Linked DNA regions of Homo sapiens: all the other regions are linked to region 3. Evidence: promoter capture Hi-C in 16 types of primary human blood cells and fetal thymus (Javierre and others, 2016). All regions are on one chromosome and are shown on one strand. Each heading gives the region's core, a stretch centred on a gene start or on the middle of the fragment in contact. The rest is flanking DNA. Distances are from core to core; before and after follow the strand shown. Region 1 overlaps TPO (thyroid peroxidase). Region 2 overlaps LALTOP (lung cancer associated lncRNA targeting TOP2A). Region 3 holds the start of SNTG2 (syntrophin gamma 2).

What was found. The method cuts DNA at HindIII sites, captures the fragments that hold promoters and counts their contacts. A CHiCAGO score of 5 or more calls a contact.
Region 1: a fragment that was not itself captured here is called in contact with the fragment with the promoter of SNTG2 in region 3 in 1 of 17 cell types (naive CD8 T cells); the score reaches 7.3 in naive CD8 T cells.
Region 2: a contact is called between a fragment that was not itself captured here and the fragment with the promoter of SNTG2 in region 3, in 1 of 17 cell types (naive B cells). The highest score is 5.2, in naive B cells.

The regions. Positions count from the first base shown.
Region 1 is chr2:1,518,308-1,521,604 of GRCh38, forward strand. The region is part of intron 15 of TPO (thyroid peroxidase); the gene reads left to right. The region is part of intron 6 of LALTOP (lung cancer associated lncRNA targeting TOP2A); the gene reads right to left. Among named protein-coding and RNA genes, the nearest start is that of LALTOP, 110 kb to the right of the region's middle. The HindIII fragment of the contact is 3,232 bases long and covers 28-3,259 here.
Region 2 is chr2:1,562,507-1,565,611 of GRCh38, forward strand. All of the region lies in intron 4 of LALTOP (lung cancer associated lncRNA targeting TOP2A), which reads right to left. Among named protein-coding and RNA genes, the nearest start is that of LALTOP, 61 kb to the right of the region's middle. The HindIII fragment of the contact is 367 bases long and covers 1,389-1,755 here.
Region 3 is chr2:949,395-952,741 of GRCh38, forward strand. It overlaps SNTG2 (syntrophin gamma 2), which reads left to right and starts at 1,455. Exons shown (of 17, transcript NM_018968.4): 1 at 1,455-1,674. The coding sequence starts at 1,603. It overlaps SNTG2-AS1 (SNTG2 antisense RNA 1), which reads right to left and starts at 1,998. Exons shown (of 3, transcript NR_136151.1): 1 at 1,891-1,998; 2 at 517-992; 3 at 240-407. RefSeq lists a silencer at 1,364-1,493. The HindIII fragment of the contact is 9,455 bases long and covers 1-3,347 here.

The sequences.
Region 1 (3,297 bases), core at 394-2,893, 570 kb after region 3:
ACAGGAACTGGTTTTTAAAAACTTGAAAGCTTAGCAACCAGATGTTACCCATGATCTTTATCGTTTCCAAAGGGCCTTGTCAAGAATCCACAGTTAATGGACTCTTTTCTGTTGTTTTTATTTTTGTGATCACTTGTAAGGGAAGACTCTGTACCTGCCATCTGCTCTGCATCCTGTCTCTCTGGGGCTGAGATATGGTAGTAAAGCCAGTTCCCCATTTCAGTTATTCTGCAAGGCCTCTGACAACTGCTGTGGTTGACCCAGATGCCTGCATTTGATGCATGAGCTTATGATCTATCCGGCATATGATATTTCAGTGACGTATTTCTGAGTAGCTTCATAGCTTCTAACAAAACTAACATACACCATAATTCAGACAACTGTGAGAAATTCCTTCCAGTAGAGAGGTGATAGTAATGGCTAAAGCCATGTGTCAGATGTAATGCTAAGTCATCCTTAGCCACTGTCTCCTCTGATTTTCTGATCAATCATCTGACTCAGGTGCTTGCCATGGCTTGAACTGTGCATTGCCCAGAACATATGTTTATATCCTGACCTTTAGGACCTCAGAACGTAACCTTATTTGGAACTAAGGTCTCTGCAGGTGTAATTAGTTAAAATGAGACTGTCCTGGAGTAGAGGGGCCCCTAATTCAGTATAGCTGGTGTTCCTCTAGAAAGAAGAGTTTGGACAGAGTCATGCTGAGCAGGCGAAGGCCATCTTGACGGGAAGGCAGAGATCAGGGTGGGGTTTCTCTAAGCTGGGGCCTGGGAAGATCGCCAGCAGCCACAGGAACTGGGAGGGAGGCCGGGGGAGCCGCCTGCAGGCACCTTGATGTGGACTCCTGCCTCCAGAGCTCTAGGTCATAAACTGCTGTTTAAGCAGCCAAGTCTGTGGTCCTCTGTGACTGCAGCCCCAGAAAACTTAATGAAGTGCTATGATTGTGTCCATTTTCAGTGTAGCATGTGGAGGTGGAGCGAGAGCCTGTTACTTGCTCAAAGCTGGTAGGCCCAGAGCAGATCCTTGAACCCAAGACCTGTCTGGTGCTGGAGGTCGTGCCACAGCTGCCCTGCTTCTCCTCGCGAGAAGATTATATTCCACATGCCAGGGCTGTTGTTTCAAATAATCATTACCAGTGAAGATTGAATAATCACCTACTCTCTCTACAAGACACTATACTGATCTGTTTTGGAAAGAGAGTACTTTAACCTTTAAATGGTGTCTCTAGTTTTAGATGGGGTGGTGGCAGGAAATATTCCCTATGTTTTATGAATCATTTGGTCTTTAAACCTTAAAAACTTTAATAACTAATAATTAAAACCCTCAGCTAACCATGAAATAGACTAAGCAATAAAAATTGAATAGGCTGTAAGCAAATAACTTCAAATTAGCTGGTTCTGTAATTAGAACTATGAAATGTATAATTGTAACAAAAACTGATACGACTATAATTTCCTATTCATAAACAATTTTGTATTTGCAAACATCCCTATAAACATCTATCACATTATCATTATAATAAATATTAGTGTCTGTAGCCCACACTCACAAGAAAAATAGCAATTTTCTTTAAGATTGACAGCCATAGATGAAATGAATACCTTTCCAAGGGAACTTGGGAGAGAAATATTTGGCTATAGTTGATTTTAGACTCTGGAGTTCTAAAAATACGCTACCAAGCACCAATTTAGTTTGCAAAATGCCACTTAGCTGAAAGATATGAAAAAGTGGATGTTAATGTGCCATCACACGCTTGAGAACACAGGCAGTTACAGAGTCAGAGACCATAACAGGGAAGACCCTGGGGCTCCAGGGCAGAAACATCCTGGACCAAAACCACAGCACCCCCAGACCTGTGATTAGGTGAGCTCAGAAGGTCAAGTCACTCATTAGGAAATGTCTTCCCACCACCTACCCTGAGACCCCTATTCTGCTCCCAGCAAATGGGCTCAACACAATCCCAGCCTCGCCTCCCTGTGTCTTATTCTTCAGCTTTTAAAAACATGATCTTATTTCCACCTTAGGGCATTATTGTGCGGTGAGGAGTAGGGAGGAGAACAGAGAGGGATAGGAAGAAAGAGAGACAGAGACAGCAGAGAGAGACACGGGAGGGGAGAGAACCCAGCACGGTGTGGCACACAGCAGGTGCTCAGCAAACACGTTTCCTCTCCTAGTGAGACAAAGGTGTTTGCTTCTCTACTCTCCTCGTTTTCTACCCACCCTGCTGTCTGGGGTCTCACACTGTATGTTTTGGTGTGATTGTTATTAATGTGACAAATTGTTGATATATTTTCACTGCAAATCTACGATTCGGAGTTAACTCCATGAAACCAACTCCTCCATCAACTTTCTTGACACTGCATTTAAAATACCTCCACGGTATTATGCTTGTTTTATTGCATTGAAATTGTTTTCACCAAGTTGAATTCTTTCTGTGCAAACTTTTACACTAAAAATTCATTCCTCAAATCAGTTCTTTGGTCCATGTCAGTTTTGCCAATTAGACCTTTCGCCATGGAGGTGTTTTCCTTTGTGTTATGATTTCTTCAGATCCGGCTTTCTTAGCTCAGCATTTTAAACTTAAATTTCATGAAGACTTTGTCTGTCTGTTGATTCTTACTGTCCAGGGAAGATGCTAAATGTGCAGTTCCAGTCCTTTCTCCATTCGCTCTTGTTTTTATTATTTTTACCAATTCTACTTTTCCACCATCACTTAGTTCTGCAATTTCTGAAATACAATTTTTCAGGTTTTCCTTGTCGTTGATAAACGGTGCCCTATACCTTTTTGCTGTTTTCAGTTGTATTTTGTATTGATATTCCTACCTATGGTATGCATTATAAATTCAAGAAAGTTTGAATCATTTGCATTAATTTCCAGCAAATCCATGGGAAAGCCGCGAGGTCCTTCCCTAGGATGCAGCCAGGTTTGTCCTCCGTCCAGGACGTCTAACCCTTTGTTCCCTCCTGCACCTTCCCACGCTGTGAGCTGACGGGTGCTGTTTCTCTAGGCACGTCACGGGGGGTTCCTGCCATCTCTCCTCTCTTTATCATTAGATTCATAAGCGTGCTGGAGGGAGGCCAGCTGGGACTAGGCCGAGGCAGCCATGGGGCAGTGGGCCACGGGATCCCTGTAAGCCATGGGTGACCGGGTGCCCTCTTCCCCCAGGACCCTCCTCCCCAGGGACCCTCCTCCCCCAGGGCCCTCTTTCCCCAGACTCTTGGGGTAGAGACGGCCTGAGTCTCTTGAGATGGAGTCTGAAGCTTCTGGTCATCTGAACTGCATGTTGATGACAGGAA
Region 2 (3,105 bases), core at 322-2,821, 610 kb after region 3:
ACCTCCTCAAGTAATGCCACACCCAGACCTTACCCTGGACCATCTTCAGCGGCACACAAACCTCAAACAATGACCACTTCCCCTGCGAGTGCCAGGTCCCCAGCCCTCCCTCCCACCCAACCTGTGCCTCCATGTCCTCAGCCCAGCACCCTCCAGCCACAGGGGCAGGCACCATTTTAAAGTTGGCCATTTCTCACATTAGACAGTGACCTCCTCCATCATCTTGCTGAGGCACAAATCTAAGTCATGTGCATTTCATTAGCTAATCGTTAGGGGGGAAAGTTAGTATTTGTGTTGATGGCTAGTACTGACCGCAAAAATTAAAAGAAGGTGAAGTGGGCTAAGACAACAGTGATTTATAGCCAGGAAAACAAATGTTTTGCATAAATATGAGAGTGGAATGCTAAGTTTGGTGACAGCTCGTATCAGTGACAGAAACAAGAAAAAGCAATTTATGAAAAGTTTTTATTGTGTGCTCCAGCCAGAATTTATTTTTATTGCTTCGTAAGTGACTTTAGCTTTGTTTTATAAAACCATTAAGGGTCTGAATGGGTCATCAAATTTTCCGGTTCTGTGTTATTAAATTTTAGGAGGAAAATGATGTGCGATGATGGAATTTGAATGGGCAGCCGTTGGTGGATGTTTGAGAACGCTTCCCTCGAGAAGCCTCACCGCGGAGCATCCTTCAATCAACCTCAGCCCGTGCTCACTTACCACCCTGACACCCCCATTTCCGAGTCCACATGGCACCTCCTGGATGCCACGAATGTTCCCGGGCAGTGCTGTGCCAGCACCTATGAGAGCCTGGCCCGTGTTTGCTGGTGATGTCCTGAAAGAGGCCCAGGTCCTCCAGGAACACGCAGGGCTGCATAAAGCACACCTCCTCACATTGTCTTAGAGACGATGGGCTTTCTAAGTGTAAAGCACTCTGCAAACACACACGTCACCTCCTCACCTTCTCCGGCTGAGCACCTGCACCCCCTGGTCTCACCAAGTCCCGCCCCTCACTTCTACCCAAGCTCCACTCCAGGGAGAGGCACCTTCGGCCCACAGAGAGTGTTTCGTAAATTATTCATCCAACAAACGTTTGGCTGTCTCTTCCATGCCAGGCGTTGGGTGTGGCCCAGGGTGCCGGACTCTCTGTGAGCTCACGCACAGGCTGCGGCAGAGACAGTCAGTCCAGACGTCGCAGGTGATGCATGAAGTCAGAGGGCCTGGGAGCAATGCCATGTGCAGCCGATGTTTGCGGGGGAACTCTGTATAGTGTGGTGGACCCGAATCGCCAGCAACAGAGGACACGTGCACCTGGCAGCAGCCTCTGGAGACAGGACGCCCTCGTGTGCTGGGCCAGGGCCCAGGGACCTGGGAGCCAGGGCTGCAGCTTGCGAAGCTTGGGCAGGACTCAGTGTTTCCTCCCAAATGATTCAGAAACCTCTGGAAAGTTATGAGAATGAAGGAAATTGGGCTGATGTCTCCAAAGGACTCTTCAGGCTTTGGGGTGGGGGGAGCAAAAGCCGGGAGAATGGGGCAGGGTGGGCCTGTCCATGTCTGCACGCGGGCCCAAGAGGTAGCCATGGCAGTGATGAGGCAGGGGCACAAGGGAAGGGAAGGCTCAGAGCAGGTTTGCTGGAGCCCATCCTCAGAAGGGAGTCTCTGCTGAGGTCGAAGAGGCCTTTGATGGGGCTTCAGAGTCTGTGACATTCCAACTTCGAACCACTGCTGGGTTCACGTGGAGGTGCAATAATGATAATAACAAGCTTGGGGGTTCTAGTGTGATCTTGCTCCCCGTGGGCGGATTCCGTACACTGGTGACTTGTAAGGACTTCACATTCTTAGTATGACAGAAGCCTTCAATCTCAAATACAAACTCATTCAGGCCCACAGGCGCTGCTGTAAAACGTCCTGTGCAGAAGGTAGAGGCGTCCAAAACTGCCTTGTGAACTGGTTTTTGCTGGCAGCATTTAAATCCACTTCCCTCAACCCCCAAAATGGAAAAACAATTTTCATTTGGAAGAGCTCTGGACGCCGTGGTCGGTGAGAACAACCTTCTTGGAGCCTGCGGTTTCCTGCGGGGAGGGGTTTCCTGTGCCCTGGGCCACGCGTGGACTTCTCTCCCTGAGGCAGGATGTGGGTTGGGGCGTTGGGTCCCCAGGCTTGAGATCTCTGGGTCCATTGAATCTCAGCAAAACACTGGCTCCCAGAAGAAAGGGGAAGCTGGGTGGCTCCCATGGGCCACAGGTCCCCTGAATGCCCTGCTTATCCCTCCCACCCACAGCATTCCTGAGCCCACGGTCAGGCCACATCCTGGGGGACAACCCTGTGTGCTGAAGCAGCTGCGGCCATGCCCAGGCCACAGGAGAGTCCCCGACACAATCCTGGGAGGCCGTGGTCCCTCGTTGTACCAAGTCACCCTCTACACTAAACCACCTGCTACACCAGTAAACCAGCCACTACACCGGTAAACCAGCCGCTACACCAGTAAACCAGGGGAGTCCCTGACACAATCCTGGGAGGCCGTGGTCCCTCATTGTACCAAGTCACCCTCTACACTAAACCACCTGCTACACCAGTAAACCAGCCACTACACCGGTAAACCAGCCGCTACACCAGTAAACCAGGGGAGTCCCTGACACAATCCTGGGAGGCCGTGGTCCCTCGTTGTACCAAGTCACCCTCTATACTAAACCACCTGCTACACCAGTAAACCAGTCGCTATACCAGTAAACCAGCCGCTACACCAGTAAACCAGCTGCTACACCAGTAAACCAACTGCTATACTGGTAAACCAACCACTCATTACATCAGTAAACCAGCCGCTACACCAGTAAGCCAGCCGCTACACCAGCATGCCAGCCGCTACACCAGCATACCAGCCACTACACCAGCAAACCAGCTGCTACACCAGTATACCAGCGGCCACACCAGTAAACCAGCCGCTACACCAATAAGCCAGCCGCTACAACAGTAAGCCACCCGCTACACCAGTAAACCAGCCGCTACACCAATAAGCCAGCCGCTACAACAGTAAGCCACCCGCTACACCAGTAAACCAGCCGCTACACCAGTAAACCAGCCGCTATACCAGTAAGCCAGCCGCTACACCAG
Region 3 (3,347 bases), core at 205-2,704:
TTTTACCAATTCACCCAAGAAGCATATTTTGTAACAGCCACTGTGCCACGTATAAAAAGACCTGGTTTTTGCTATTCAAGAGCTTGTCCTCTGGTTAAACTGAGTGCTAAGAAGTGCTGGCAGACTGCCGTGAAGGTGAAACAGGAATACAGAGAATAGAGAAATGGGGAAGGGCGTCTGTGTTCGAAACCCAGGTCTGCTCAGGGGTCAAGCAAGTCGGAGTCAGAAAAAGTAAAGTGTTTAACATCGAGTTTTCAATATTTATTTGTTTACAATGCGTCACATTCTGCTCCTAGATAGGGTTAACCTCTGAAGACCTCAGATTTCGCTGCTTTTCCTTGCCGTGGAGAGGGAATAAAACGGGCATCGTGGCCTCCGCGATGGGCGCTCGTGCCTGGGTCGAAGGACTGGGGGGCGGAGGATTTGGAAAGGGAGAAAAATACGGGCTGGCTTCTTTTTAAAAAATGTGGGTAGCCTTGCCTGCCCCCGCCGCACTGGAATTTATCCTAAACTTACTTTCATTTACATTAAAACAAGACGATTTGAGTCTACCAAACCCAATACTGCATCTGTGAGGCTCCTTTTGGCACAAACCTGAATGAACAGCGGGAAACGCCGTCTCCCCTGGCGTCTGAGATCTGGGGTCCCCTCCCCACCTGGTCTCCTCGCTCCCGCCCCAGCCCCGTGCGCCCCAGGAGGGCACCGCCGAGCGCCGGGTCCCCGCAGGGTTCGGGAGACTCCGCGGACCGGAGGAGGGATAGGACCCCCGAGCTTTGGGGGCGGGAAGGGAGGGTGGAAGGAGGAGGGGAGCGGGGTTGGGGAAAGTTGGAGCTTCGGTATCTTTTCTCCGGGCCAGGCCGTCCTCGGGGCCCTGCGCTGCGTCTCCAAGTGCTGGGAAGACTCCGCGGGGAAAGGTCTGAGGACGCGGCCGGCTGGCACAGGTGTGGCGGCTTCAGAGGGCCGGGGAGAACCCATGGCTTCGAGGCTGTGGACTAGAAATGTCCCTGATTAGAAGCTGAGAACCTTTGGCCAGGGAGGTGGGGCGGCGGGGAGGGGTCGTCAAGCCGGTCCAGAGCGCGCCCACCTGCGCCACAAGGGAGAAGAGGTGCCCCCCGCCCCCCTCCGCCCACCGCCGCCACGATGCGCCGCGGACCTCGGCGACCCAGCCCGGGTAGAAGCGCGCGCTCCCCTCCTCCAGCCTCGTGCGCCGGCCCCTGCCCCGCCAGCCCCGCTATGGTCCCCCATCCACCCCCGCGGGAGCGCCCCTGTCCCCCCATCCTGCACTTCCCCCAGAGTCGCGCGCCAGTTTCCCGCCCCGTGGAAGCGCCCCTCTCCCGACTTCGGCTGATCCCCGCTCGCCGCCCTCCCCGCGGGTGCGCGCCCGGCCCCTCCCTCGCCCGGGGCGGGTCTGCGTGGGCGGTGCTCCGGGTCGGCGGGCGGAGCTCCGGTTCCCCAGCCCTGCGCCCCGGTGGAGCCCGAGCCGGAGCCGGCAGAGGGGCGCGGGCGCGGACGCGGCGCCTGGCGGGGCCCTGGGAGGCTCGGACGGGGTCCTGGCGTTGAGCTCGGCCGGCCCGGAGCGCGGACCCAGCCGCAGGGGCGGCGATGGGCACCGAGGGACCCCCGCCCCCGGCCGCCTCCCGCGGACGCCAGGGCTGCCTGCTGGTACCTGCGCGGGTGAGTGCGGCCCCTCAGCGCCCCTTCACCTCCGGCCCCCCTTCCCTCTCCTTCGCGCCCTTCTCCCCCCGCCCCTCCTCCCTCCACGCCCCCTCGCTCCCCGCGACCCCTTCCCTGTCTCCGGGGACGGCTGGCCGGAGGGTGGGCGCCGGAGCCCCGGGACGCAGTGGGCACCCGCCCCCTGGCCGCTCTGCTCCCTCCAGCCCAGTGTCTTACTGGAAACTTGCAGGCTTTGCTCCTCCAGCGTCTTCCAAGGTTTGGTTTTGAGGCGCCCGGGCTTCCCTTTACTGCGTGGGAAGTAGTGCTTTCCAGAATTTGGGATTTGAGATTGGCCCGGCATTGCTTCCCAGGAGCGGCTCTTTCGGGCCCAGGCGGTGGCTCGGACCGGAGCGTCCCCCCTGCAGCCTTCGGGCGCCCAGGCCAGGTCTGAGTTGGCCAGTTTGAGCCCAGCCAGGTGCATGGCGCGGCCTCGGCAGGTGCTGGGGGCTCTAGGCCATTCGGGGAACCGCTGGGACGCCAACTGGGTAATACGGATTTCTTTTTTGAAGTCTATTCTGGTTCCCACCCTAAATAACTCCCTCTTCACCTTCTTATTTTTAAATAACTAAACTATTGATTGACAGAAAACAGAAATGTTGGCCCAAAGAAAAACGAAAAGTTCTTGGAAACCTTCAAGTTGCCACCCACAGCACAGCCTCGAGTTGTGAAAACAGTTTAAGGGAGCACGTGGCCACCCCAGCCCTAGGAGGCTGCCGAGAAGCGCGGCTGTTAATGAAAATGCATTGACAACCACTCCTTTAGGATTCCTTCCCCAGGAGCTCCCAGTCCCAGGAGCGACCAGGAATACAGTTAGCCCTCCCTTATAGGACAGTGGAGAGACGGTTCAGAAGGCCACGGGTTGAGGGCTGCTACAAATTCCTATCGTCATAATAATGATTCTAAACTAGGACTGTGGTCGTCGCTACTGTGATGTTAAAAAGATTTCTATGTAGAGACAGGTGCATCTTCATTCAAGTAGCACCTTTCTGGGCTTTTACTACAAAATATGAAAATTAAATTTCATGTAAAATGTGGGTGTTCGTTTCTTGAAGTACTTTGTAATATGAATAGCTATCCCACTGTTGCCCATGGTAATCAAACCCGAGAAAATATGCGGGGATTACCTGGAAATAAACCGCAGTAAAAACTGCAGGCGCTGTGGAATCACAGGCTTTCCGTCTGGTCACTGCCTTCAGCTTTATAATGATGCCCTCCCACGGTTAGGGATTGTGCATTTTTCTCCAGACATTCGAGCAAAGCAATTCTTGCTTTTAATCATTGTAATTATAGCGGAAGCGTTGAAGTGGATTCATCATACTTCATGATTGACCCACTTGATGAGTTATTGGCAATAACGTCAACAAATAAAGCAACTGCGCGTATTCTAGTAAATGCTCTCCTTTGCGCTCAGTATTAATTAAGGTGCTAAATTTGATGTTTTCCAGTCAAGAGTGGCCTCTGCTCACCTGTTTGCTACAAGATGTGATTGGCGCTTTCTTTCTAATAAGGACCTTGATTATTTGAAACAGCCTGTCTGAATTGTATTGAAAGAAACTTTTTTTTTAGCGTTGGAGGCCAAGTATTACAATAAGATGGAGCATTTTAAGAGCAAGACTCCTAACTTTGCAGTCATA